3 separate regions of the Homo sapiens genome follow, and regions 1 and 2 are each linked to region 3. Evidence: promoter capture Hi-C in human tissues and cell types (Jung and others, 2019). All regions are on one chromosome and are shown on one strand. The core of a region is centred on a gene start or on the middle of the fragment in contact, and the rest is flanking DNA. Distances in the headings are between cores, read along the strand shown. Region 1 overlaps CUL4A (cullin 4A). Region 2 overlaps MCF2L (MCF.2 cell line derived transforming sequence like). Region 3 holds the start of PROZ (protein Z, vitamin K dependent plasma glycoprotein).

Evidence for each region. Contacts are between HindIII fragments. The study calls those that stand out against the background at their distance.
Region 1: a contact is called between a fragment that was not itself captured here and the fragment with the promoter of PROZ in region 3, in 3 of the 25 tissues and cell types used here (bladder, heart right ventricle and neural progenitor cells).
Region 2: a fragment that was not itself captured here is called in contact with the fragment with the promoter of PROZ in region 3 in 3 of the 25 tissues and cell types used here (H1 embryonic stem cells, dorsolateral prefrontal cortex and ovary).

What each region holds. Positions count from the first base shown.
Region 1 is chr13:113,252,853-113,256,755 of GRCh38, reverse strand. CUL4A (cullin 4A) reads right to left here. Exons shown (of 20, transcript NM_001008895.4): 16 at 3,561-3,674; 17 at 1,958-2,063; 18 at 1,631-1,803. Among named protein-coding and RNA genes, the nearest start is that of MIR8075, 8.1 kb to the left of the region's middle. The HindIII fragment of the contact is 5,416 bases long and covers 1-3,903 here.
Region 2 is chr13:113,073,996-113,077,915 of GRCh38, reverse strand. It overlaps MCF2L (MCF.2 cell line derived transforming sequence like), which reads right to left. Exons shown (of 30, transcript NM_001112732.3): 10 at 3,353-3,472; 11 at 2,727-2,918; 12 at 1,759-1,950; 13 at 705-864. Among named protein-coding and RNA genes, the nearest start is that of F7, 30 kb to the left of the region's middle. The HindIII fragment of the contact is 3,451 bases long and covers 1-3,290 here.
Region 3 is chr13:113,157,188-113,161,458 of GRCh38, reverse strand. PROZ (protein Z, vitamin K dependent plasma glycoprotein) reads right to left here and starts at 2,811. Exons shown (of 8, transcript NM_003891.3): 1 at 2,729-2,811; 2 at 1,282-1,445; 3 at 487-511. The coding sequence starts at 2,798. RefSeq lists enhancers at 1,597-2,174, 2,751-3,328. The HindIII fragment of the contact is 7,105 bases long and covers 1-4,271 here.

The sequences.
Region 1 (3,903 bases), core at 1,229-3,728, 96 kb before region 3:
TACAGGTGTGTGGCAAAGAGCTTTCTAAACGATTCATTTAATTCTCACAACTTGAGGTAGTAGTATGTCTATTTTAAATATGAGAAACTGAGCATTAGAAAGATTATATAATTTGTATAAACTACTGAGTGGTAGAAAGATGCTGTAAAGAATCAGAAATCAAAATGAAAACTGCAACAAACTATCTTTGGGCTGCTCAGAACAGGGTGAGCGAAGGACAGGTGGAGGTGGGGGCAGACACTGTGCTCTGGTGAAATCTGCCAGACTTCAACTTGGAAAAGAGCAAACTAAGACAAGTACACATTATTTTACCCAGCAGCTCCAGAGCAAGAATCACACTAAAGAAACAATCTAACAAGTGCACAGAAATGTCTGTGCCAGGGTGTTGAACGTAATCTTATTTTCAGGAGGGGCAGTGGAGGAATGTTAGTGCCTGTGGCCGAGGGCACTGCCAGCCCTGGTGGGTCTACACAACCGGCACTGTGCTCCTGCAACAAGTCCTGGCCAGGAGAAGACTGCGATCAGCAACGAAAACTGGCTACAGGAAGGCCCTGACAGGTGCCATATGTACAGTGATCCCAGGTGTTTTTTCTTTTGTAGAGTTTGGGGTCTCACTGCATTGCTCAGGCTGGCCTCAAACTCCCGGGATCAAGCGACCCTCCCGAGTAGCTGAGACTATGGGTGCATGTCACTGTGCCTGGCTTAGTGATCCCACTAAAAAAAAAGTTTACATACACTCACACCACAGAAAAAGGCTGTGACCACAAACAAAAAGGGCAGTAGTGGTTACCTTCGGGAGAAAGAACTGATAGACCTTCTCACTTTTGCCCACTATAAAAGGTGCACCCTCAAAGGAGTTAAAAACTTAAGTCCACATAAAAACCTGCACAGAAATGTTTATAGCAGCTTTAGTCATCATCACCAAAACTTGGAAACAACCAGATGTCCTTCAGTAGGTGAAGGGATAAGTTGTGATGCATCCAGACAACGGAGAATCCTTCAGTGCAAAAAGCAGAGTTACCCAGTCATGAAAAGACACGGTGAACCTCAAATACGTTCTAATAAATAAAGAAGCCAATCTGAAAAGGCTATATACACTATGACTCCAACTGTACGGCATTCAGGAAAGGGCAAAACTATGGTGACAGTAACAGGGTCAGGGGTTGCCAGGGGCTCGGAGGGAGACAGGGATACAGCGACAGAACATAAGAGAATTTTTAGGGCAATGAAACTGTCCTGTATGATCCTATAATGGTGGATACATAACATTATACATTTACCCAGACCCACAGAATGTACAACACCAAGAGTGAACCATATCAGATTCTATTACCATAGAAAGTGTGGATAATTTTCGAAACCCTATGACCATGGGGAGTTCTGGCTTAGCACACAACTTTTTTGTGAATAGGAATAACATTAAGTGGCTTTTTTTCTGATTTTCTTTCCTACTGAGAATGTGAAGTTAATGAAAGCGACAGGAAAATGAGTACTCTTATAAACATTACATAGTGAAATTGGATTATTGTAGAAATGTGCTTCAGGCCTCTAACAGCCAAAAACATTACTACAAAAACAAATGATTCCCTGCTAAACCCCCTATAAGTAAAAAGAGAAAGTTTATACATACAGTTTCCTTCATCTGAATTTGATTGATCTTTATTCTAAACAACTTGTGCTTGAACTCTCCATTAAAAATGAACTTGTCTCCATCTTCCACTTCCTTTCCTTTGGGACTTTTAATCAGCACACGTGCTTTGCCACAGGCCAGGGACTGCAGCGTTCTGCGCAATTCACTATCCTCTGAATGGGAAGCAAATGCAGGCAAAGGCTGGCGTTAAACGAATGAGACTCAACAACAGTAAACCAATCATGCTACCAAGTCTATGTCTTATCTTAAAACAAATACATGCTTTAAGAACAACTCATGGAGCTATGCACTCTGCAGTTTTCGTACCTATCCCCGTGGCCATTTTTATCTCCTCAAAGCTGAAGCCATCTCCCTCGTTGAACATGAGGAGCACCAGTGTCTGGAAGAGGGACACCTGGAATTCCTTCTTCCCCTGGAAGAGAAGGCCTCATCACACCTCTGAAGCTGTGCATGTACAATCTTTGAAAAATTAAAAGAAGCTTCTTTTTGCTCTCAAACTTTTTTTTTTTTGAGAAGGAGTCTCGCTCTGTCACCCAGGCTGGAGTGCAGTGGCACAATCTCAGCTCACTGCAAGCCCCACCTCCCGGAATCATGCCATTCTCCTGCCTCAGCCTCCCGAGTAGCTGGGACTACTGGTGCCTACCAAGCCCGGCTAATTTTTTGTATTTTTAGTAGAGATGGAGTTCCACTGTGTTAGCCAGGATGGTCTCGATCTCCTGACCTTGTGATCCACCCACCTCGGCCTCCCCAGGTACTGGGATTACAGTCCAGCTTTCTTTTATACGGGACTGACTGTAACGTAGGGGTGAATGCAATTTGGCCTTATATATCCCAGGATGATCTCCTTTTCTATTCAGGAGTTAGTGCTGCAGCAACTTGCCACATGCCTCCAGGTCAGACCCACGAGAGGCACATGAGAGTTTGGGTGACAGTTGGTGGCCCCCTCTGCGGACCCAGCCCAGACTCATCACAAGCCCATAACAAGCCCTTCCTGCACACCTGGAGAGAGCTGCAGTTGGTGGTGCTGGTACAGACCCTGTGGAGGTCAAGTTCAACTAAAGTCAGCAAGTAGGTAAAAAACTGGGGATAATAGAAATTAACTTTCCTAATACCTTAAGGAAGAGAATATATGGTTTCATGTATATGACTCTCTACAATAATAAAGTAGGTATGTATAACTTATTTGATAATGTACAGATAAGTTTATTATTAATATAACAGCTATACAAAATAGGAATTTTATGTTTTTGCTTAGTGTATATAATTGCCGTTTCATAAGCGCCTTTCATTGATCAGTGCATTGTATGCATTCTCCCCTCTTAAATAATCGCTCATAATAACAGCACTGCAACCACTATTCTCATTCATTAATCCGTGAAAATGTCTTATTAAGATGAGTTCCTAGAGTTGAAACTAAGGCAACAACTCGGCAGCAGGGTTGCCAAAGTTCACAATGCCAAACTGCCCTTCCAAAAGCTCACTACAGTTTATGCTTCTTCCAGTAGTGGGCAAGAGTCTGTTTTTTTTAATTTTTTTTTATTTTTTAGGCTTCATCAAATCTCTTAGTCAAAAAGTGGCATCTTACTGTATTTTACTTTGAAGCCCTCTGTTTAGCAGAGAAGTGTAATGCATCTTCACAGATATTTTTTTCAATTTTGCTTTTATGAGTTGCCTCTTCACATTCTCTGCTCTTTTTTTCAATAGGTAAATGGTTTTCTATGGATTGATTTCTTAAGAATTTTTATTGATTGGAATAATAACCCTTTAACTGTTACAAATTTTATTGACTTATAAAAGCTAGTGAATTAAAGTGAAACACTCCTTTTTTGCTACTAAAGTCCAGTAACAATAAAAAAATTATATTAACATATTTACAAATAATAAAAAATAAATGAAACAGACAACTTACTTCTTTAAACTCCGCTTTTAAAACAGCATGTCCCAAAGTAGTTTGCCACTGAAGTTTTCGACCACTGTGCTTTCCAAGATAAAATGCCTTAAATACTTCCTGAAGTTTAATCATCTGTTAAGCATAGGAGAACAACAAAATTATGCCACACACCATCCATCTCAATAGCTCCCCATTCAATGCACAGAGTTTTACAATTTCTCACGGCTGAATTAAAAGGTCAGCTCTATATTCTCACACTTTCTGGATTCCATTATTTGTAAAAACGTCCTCAATCCTTGAACTTTGGGGCTTCTCAGTGTCAACGAGATAATGCCTGAACTGGTGTTTCATGGTACAGACC
Region 2 (3,920 bases), core at 316-2,815, 82 kb after region 3:
CCCAGCACAGGAAGGCAAGAGCCTGGCCCCCGGGGCCCCTGAGATTGACAGCTGACTTTCGCCAAAGCTGGGGCAGCAGCTCGCCTGGTGGGTTCGTGTGTGAGAAACCAGCAAGGATGGGAAGAGGGTTCGTTTTGAGACACAGAGGTGGCGGGAAAGTCTCTGGGAAATGGCGCCGTGCCTGGCTCGGCATAGAGGGCGGGTTTGGGACCAGCAATGCGCGCCGGACTGAGGTGCGCGGACGTGGCTCTTCAGGGCTCCTGGAGCCCAGGGTCTGGGCCGTGTGTGAGGAATGTTGTTTGGCAATAGCACCGGGAAAGGACAGACCGTGGAGAGGCTGGAGCTGGGAAGGCCGGAGATGGTTCCTCTGTGGGAGCTCTGTGTTTCCAGTTTTGGGCCACGTGGGCTTCACTGAGACCACTGAACCCTGCCAGCCTCATGGAAAAGCAGCCACAACGATGCCTACAAGATGTGCGTGGCACAGGATGGGCGTGGCCGGGTCCTGACAAAACTCCATTTATAAACATGGGTGAGGGGTGGCGGGAACCGGCCCTCAGGCCCTGAACTGGGGCCCGGAGGTGGAAGGGGAGGAGGCGTGTGGAGACAGTTTTCGCAGGTGGCTGCCTCAGATGTACCAAGCTCTCAACGCCCGGGGCTCCCCCGAGGGTCCCACAGCACCCGGGGCACCGGGCGGCCACACAGACCTGGGGAGGGGCAGGGCGACTTTGCCAGTGCCTCGGGTCTGGGGGCCACCGGCTGCACGGGCCGCGTCTGCCTGGCCGCCAGCTTCTTCAGGCTGGCCTGCCTGCGGTGGAACACCTCCTCCATGCTTGCCTGCTTCTGGAAGACCTTTCGCACGTGCTCCTGAAACCGCATGCTCAGTAAGGTGCCTTGCACATGTTGGTGTCATCACTAAAAATACACAGTCAGGCGCAGAACGTGCCGGGGCACGCCCAACCCCCGCTTTAAATGTTCTCCATGCGGGGTCTGTCAGCGCAGCGCAGCTGTGTCCAGCCCTGGCCACTACGGACGGAGAGGGGGATGCAGCCCCCACACGGGACGGGGCCCCGGCCTCGGGAAAGGGCAGCTCCATGCGAGGGAGGGGCCTGCAGCCTTCCCCAGGCATGTGGAGGGCTCAGGAGGAGCCTGGTCTCAAGGGCATCACCAGGTCCCAGGGCCAGGCCCTTCCTGAAGAACACACCCATGCCACAAAGTCTGCCAGCGGAGGCGGGATGGCCACCTCGCAGGGTTGGCGTGGAAATAATTTCTGTGTTGAAAGGAAAATTCAGCTTGACCTCCCAACTGTGTGTTTCTCTCATATGCCTATTATTTGGTAGTAATTCATTAAATGGGCCAGGTGCGGTGGCTCACACCTGTCATTCCAGCACTTTGGGAGGTTGAGCTGGGTGGATCACCTGAGGTCAGGAGTTCGAGACCAGCCTGGCCAACATGGTGAAAACCTGTCTCTAATAAAAATACAAAAATTAGCCAGGCTTGGTGGTGGGCGCCTGTAATCCCAGCTACTCAGGAGGCTGAGGCAGGAGAATTGCTTGAACCTGGGAGGCGGAGATTGCAGTGAGCTAAGATCGTGCCACTGCACTCCAGCCTGGGCGACAAGAGCGAGATTCCATCTCAAAAAAAAAATAATAATAAATAAATACAAATAATTCATTAAATGATTCTTTCAAACTTCCCACAGAGGAATGCCTCACTGCTCGGGACAGCAAGCTGCAAATGGAGAGCCCGAGTCAGCGTTACCATGAGATCTTGGTTGAGGATGGATTCGTATTCCTTGTAAATCGCGTTGAGCTCCTGGATCTTATTTTCCGCACCGGTCTCCAAAAACTTCTCGATTTCCTGGAGGGCAGCCTCCGCGCCGTCCTGGGACTGGCACTTGTCCACAGGTTGTGAGGCCAGCAGGTAAATCCCTTCATCACACCACTTCATGGACTGGAAACACAGAGCATTGCCGAGGGCAGGACGCCGTGAGAGGGTGAGAGCGTCACCCTGTCCAGGCACACACTGCCGGGGTGTCCTCCCGACAGATCCCGGGCCACCGACTCCTCGTGCTCCCGCCACCCTGTCCAAAGCACCCCAAGGGGACACAGTGCTGGACAAGGCCAATCCCAAGGGGACACAGTGCTGGACAAGGCCAATCCCAAGGGGACACAGTGCTGGACAACACCAGTGAATTACCCAGGGCGGGGCCTGGAGAGGCAGGGTAAGTGCAGTAGGATCAACCAGGCCTTAAGCTTCTGGATCTTTTAAAGAAATCATTATTGGCTGGGCAGGGTGGCTCACGCCTGTAATCCCAGCACTCTGAGAGGTGAAGGTGAGAGGATCACCTGAGCCCAGGAGTTCGAGACCAGCCTGGGCAACATAGTGAGACCCCATCTCTATCACACACACACAAAATACAAGAATTAGCTGGGTACGGTGGCATGCACCTACAGTCCCAGCTACTTGGGGGCTGAGGTGGGAGGATCCCTTGAGCCCAGGAACCAGAGGTTGCAGTGAGAAAAAAAAAAAAAAAGAAATAAAACTGTGGCAAATGAATTCTAGAAAAAGACCCTCTAGGCCAACAAGACCAGAAACGAAGGGTGCAAGGACATTTTCCAGCCAAAGAGCTGCCCTCCCCACGACAAGGGTCAGCCGGTGGTGGATGTGGGAGGAAGAGGCTGGTTCCGCAGCTGGGGGGGAGTGGGGTGGGGTCCGGCTCGGCCTACCGTCTCCAGGCGGCGGTGCAGCTCCAGGGACTTGCTGAGCAGCCCCCTCCTCCTTGCGATCTCCGCAGAGAACTGGTCACAGAGGTGCCGGAGCTCCTGGCACTTTGGGCGGATGGAGTCTACCGCGTAGTGCTTGTTCCCAATGAGCTGCTCGCCGTCCAGAGACAGGGCCCGGGCCCTCTCCACGGCCACCTGTGGACGGCCACCCAGAGGACCAGCTCAGGCCTCTTTCTGTTCGAGGCACACAGTGCCTTGCTGTACGGGATGTGTGTCCCGGGGCACACGTGTGTCTTGATTTCTTTGTTTACTGCTGCGGATGCCTGAGATGCTGCTTAATCCCCGAAGCTGTTCTGTGGCAAGTGCTTCTGGGGGCTGTGGTGGTCCCAGCAAAGGCATTGACCGTCTGCAGGGACCTGACCCAGAGGAGGCCGGGCAGGGCCATGTGCTGTGGGTGGGGTGTGGGAGGGGAGGGGTACAGGCAGCAGCACCCCCCACCCCATGGACATCCCCGGGGGGCTGTGGGGTCCGTTCTCCGTAGGCGGGAGGCCCATTCCTGCGCCTTCCTGAGCAGCACTTGATGATGCTGCCCACACTCTCCCGCCGCCCCCGCCGGGACCCCGCCTTACGCCTGATTTCTCCTCGAAGCTGGCCAGGTCCCTCAGCAGGTGCTCCACATGCGCCAGGCTGTTGCCGATGTCTGTGAAGGTTGCTATCTTCTGGGACGCTGCGTCCAAGATGGCTTTGACCTGGAACAGAGGAGGGCCCATCTCAGGGGGGTGTCTCCCTCACCTGAACAGAGAGAACCCACTCCAGTGCTCCAGATCAGGGAAATGACAGAATTCAAAGTCGGGCCAAGTGGTCATCAATCAAGCAGGGACCACAGTCAGACAGGTGCAAAGTCGGCCCCGAGTGGTCACCAATCAAGCGGGGACCGTGGGGCCTCTGGGTCGACGCTACCCACCAGTGACCTCACTGGCAGAACAATTGTTTCTCTGTGGCTTGTGTGTGCCTCCGTTTATCAACCACACGCCTGAAAACAGCATGAGGAGAAGATGAGATCACGCAAGGACAAAGGCCCTGGGAGCCGAAAGCCAGCAGCAATATGGACACTGGAATTGTCAGCATTCCTACTGGATCCTAGGTGTGGAGAGTTATGTAACTCAGTCCCTTCTAGCTTGCTACTAACTTCTAATG
Region 3 (4,271 bases), core at 1,562-4,061:
CCCGTGGGTCTCCATCTGTGTTACTTCTGTCCCATGCTCTTCTGCAGTTGCCCACCTAGAGCTCCTCCCTTGGGAGGAGTCTCCTAACCAAAGTCTCCATCGGGGCCATGACTTTCCAAAATTTGAGACGAGTTCTGACCCTGCTGCAGCATGAGGCTTCCCAGGAGCCCAGGAGCCAGGCGGCTGGAGGAGCTGCTCTGGGGGGGCCCTCCTGGCCTGTGGCCCATGTCCCAGAGTGCCAAGAAACTACCCAGACACTGGGCAAGACAAACCAGGCACTGCCTGTGGCCCTGGTGGCAGAGCCCGGGGGCTTCCTGACCTGGTCCTTGGGGAGAGTCGGAGCTGCCCTTCCCTGGAGAGACACCGTGGGTCCTGGAGCCAGAGGCTTGGCATCCGCTGAGCTGGGGTCGTGAAGCGTCCTAAGCCCACCCACGCACCTCATCCCGAGGAATTAATACTTCTGAGGAGACGAAGGAAACCACTTACCCTTATATCGTCTCCAGAATTCATCCTTTAGAGTTAAAACATAAAAATGTTACAAATGGGATATTTGTTTTTCTATATTCTTTCCTGTAGATGAACTTGAAGGTAAGAAAATGTTGATTTTATTCACTTAATAGGACAATAGTGGTTGAAACAATGCACAATTTTCCTGTTTTACAGCCTATTTGTTTATGTTAAATGTATAGTAACTAAATGTATCTGTAAGATATATTACTCAACATGTGCTTACCACCACCTATTTGAGGAAGGCCAGAGTCTATGACATGGCACAAACCCACCACCCACAGCCCCTAACGTGGCCCTTCCCTTCTAGGGCCAATCTCCACGCCACCCTCCACAAAAGCACATGATATAGAAGTCACATCACCTTTTCGCTTTTTATAAACCGAGTTGAATTTTAAAGATATATACCTCTGTAGGGAGTGGGGACACTTAGTTTGGGGTAGGAGTATCTAAAATTAGGAGAATTATTCAGACTTGAAGCCTAGAAAGAAAATGTATGCTGGGTGTCTGATCAGTGTGTGGGCCTTGCCTGACCTGAAGAAATGAGTCCAGTGGGCTCTGAGCTGACTTCCAGCCCCACTCACTGCTGTAGGGAAAGGTGGATTAAGTCGATTCTCTAAATTGTTTCCTCATCTGTAAAACTGGGATTGTGTCAACCTCATCGGTAAGTAAATAGGCTAATTAATTAAGCTTAATCTCTGAGAAATGATGCTCCCTGGGCCAGCAGAAGTCTAAATAATGAGGAGGCCTGTGGTTTGTGGTGGGGGTACATACAGTGACTACTTCATTTTCAAACACTTCTCTTGCTTCTTCATAGACACAGATTTCTTCATAACATTCTTTTTCCAAGTTTCCCTCGAAGAGTTCTTCCAGAAGATAGGAGCCCGCACGCTTCCACCTCACCAGAACGTCGTTTGCTTTGGAGGCCGGGAGAAATACTACAGACGAGACAAGAAGGCAGGTGACTGGGAGCACCGAGGGCCCTGCTTTCCAGAGCTGCCTGGCTTCCTCCCCGGCCGGCCGCCAGCCCCAGCCCCGTCCGTCTCCACAGGCTCTCAGCCTGCGAGGGCCTCAGGGCCACCCCGCTACTCCCTCCCCCGAGGTAGGCAAGCACTTCATCCTCTGGGCGAATGGATCAGCCCCAGGATCAGTGCGGATACACTAAGGTTCTGCAGAGAGGCCACGGGCCTCAGTCAGGAAAGTGGAGGAGGGAGGGCTCCAACTGGGTTTTGGGTCTGAGTGCGAAGGAAGGCTGAGCTGGGGTCAAAGGTCCCCGTACTGAGAACTGGGGACCAAGAGCCATCAGCTCCTGTGCTGCCTCTGTGCGCAGCATTTAACATCTTGATAAAACACATAAAGAAGAAACTTATACATTGCAGCAGGCTCTGCGATTTCCAGGAGGAGAAGGCAAATGAGTTGACCCGCGGCAGTGGTCTCTGGAGCCTCTTCCCACCTGAGGGTCCCAAAGCATGTTCTCTCCCTCTCCGGGAGGGTCAAAGCCCAGGCCCTTCCCATCCTCCCTCCTTTTCTCTCGGTGCTGAGGGTTACAGCAGGGGGGGCTCAGCTAAGTCCGGCTACGGTAAGTGCTGGGCAGGGCAGGGCGGGGGGATCACCCTCTCAGGGTGGGAGACCATGGGGCCAGCGGGAGACCATGGGGCCAGCGGGGATGCTGGGTGTTTTGACTTGCAGCTTTCCTGGACGCCTGTGCAGGCAGAGTCAGAATGGAGTCCATGTCGTTCCTTCAGTGAAGTGGCTGGTGGTAGAAGGGTGGCAGGCAGGCAGGGTGGCTGCTCCCTGGCTATGTCTCCTGACTCAAGACTGGGCATTCCTGGCTGGCCTGGCCAAGGCTCTCTCTGCCCACATTGCAGTCTGGGCTCAGCCTGCCCCACCCCCTCCCCTCGTCCAATGCCCAACCCAGGCCTCCCCCCACTCCTCCCCCTTTCCCCCTCCCCTCTCCCCGGCCTTTCCCGGCTGAATCCCCTGCACACAGGCTTCTTTCCATTTGGGCATCTCTTGGGAGGACCCCAAGTGACACTATCATGTCCCAAATACTTGTCACCAAATGATAAAGATCCAAACAGCTTTTTCAGGGGAATTAAGACTAGTCTGGGCACTCAGGGCTCCTCTGGCTCCTGGAAAAAGCCTCATCTACAAATCCACCATGGACCGAGTCAAGAAAGACACAGCACAGGCACAACAGACAGGTAAGCCAGATGCCTACCTGAGGGCTCCACACGATGGAGGGCGAGGACCAGGACCAGGCCCTGGAGCAGTGGGACGCAGCCTGCCATTCCCACCCGGAGCGCTGGGACAGGGCTACAAACACAGCCAAAGTCCAGGCTGGGGGAGGTGCCGGCAGCAGGAGCCTCGGGGCACGACCTGTGCAGCTGTGTGCTTCCCTCCTGACGTTTTCTGTTTGAGGCCAGGCAGAGAAATGAACGGTGAAGGCTCAGAGGACCCTGGGAGATATTTAGGGAGACAGAGAACAGAAGGTAAAGGCAGCAGGTGCAAGGTGGAAGGTGGCACCCATGCCCGTGTGTGGTCAATGGAGGTGAGATAGGCCCTGGGGACACAGCACTGGGCGGGACAGACAAAGTCACATGCAGCTTACGTTCTAGGTGTGTGTGGAATACACAGAAAAGAACGAGGGAAAGAGACAGGAGGGAGTGAGGGAGGGAAAGCAGGAGGATGGAAAGAAGGAAGGGGAGAAAAGGAAGGGAGGGAGGGAGGAGGGAGAAAGCGGGGAAGGGCCAAATAGTGTCTGTCACTACAGCTCAGCACCATTGTAGCAGAGGCAGCATAGACAATCATGAATGAACACTTGGCTGTGTGCCAATAAAGCTTTATTTATAAGAGCTATTAAGGGGCCAGATTTGGCCCCAGGGTTGTCGTTTGCTGCTTTCAGATGTAGGCCCTGTGTATTAGTCCCTTCTTACACTGTTATGAAGAAATAGCCAAGACTGGGTAATTTAAGAAAAGAGGTTTAGTTGACTCCCAGTTCCACATGGCTGGGGAGGCCTCAGGAAACTTATAATTATGGCAGAAGGCACCTCTTCACAGGGTGGCAGCAGAGAGAATGACTGAAGCAGGGGAAATGCCAGATCCTTATAAAACCATCAAATCTCTTGAGACTCACTCACTATCCCAAGAATAGCATGGTGGAAACCACCCCCATGATTCAATTACCTCCCACCGGGTCCCTCCCAGGACACGTGGGGACTATGGGGATTACAATTCAAGATAAGATTTCGGTGGGGACACAGCCAAACCATATCAGCCCTTGAAGCCTGAGGTAAGAACCTGGTGTTTCATTTTCACTGTGTTGGGAAGATATTGGAGGGAACAGGAATTGACATGGAAAGATTTGTGCTCTGAAGGGATCACTGGGCTGCTGTGTGGAGAACAGAACATTCCAGAGAAGTCAAAAGGGAGGCTGCCGGCTAGTCCAGGAGGGGGTGAGGGTGCAGCCATGCAGCAGGAAGCACGTTTGCAGTCTGGATGCTTCAGGAAGGGAAAGCTGATGGGATTCATGATGAATTGTGTCGGGCAGCACGGCTCCAAGGTTTGGGCTGAGCGATTGGGAGGATGGCAGTGCGTGTGCTGAGACGGCCAAGCTCCAGGAGGGCAGAGGGAAGCGAGGTTTGGCAAATTTGAGGTGTCTGTGGGATGTCCAGGTGGAGACAGGAGTGGGCATCCGAGAAGCTGGGACTCACAGTGGAGATTCAGGTGGTAACAGATGAAATGACAGCATTGTCAGCATATAG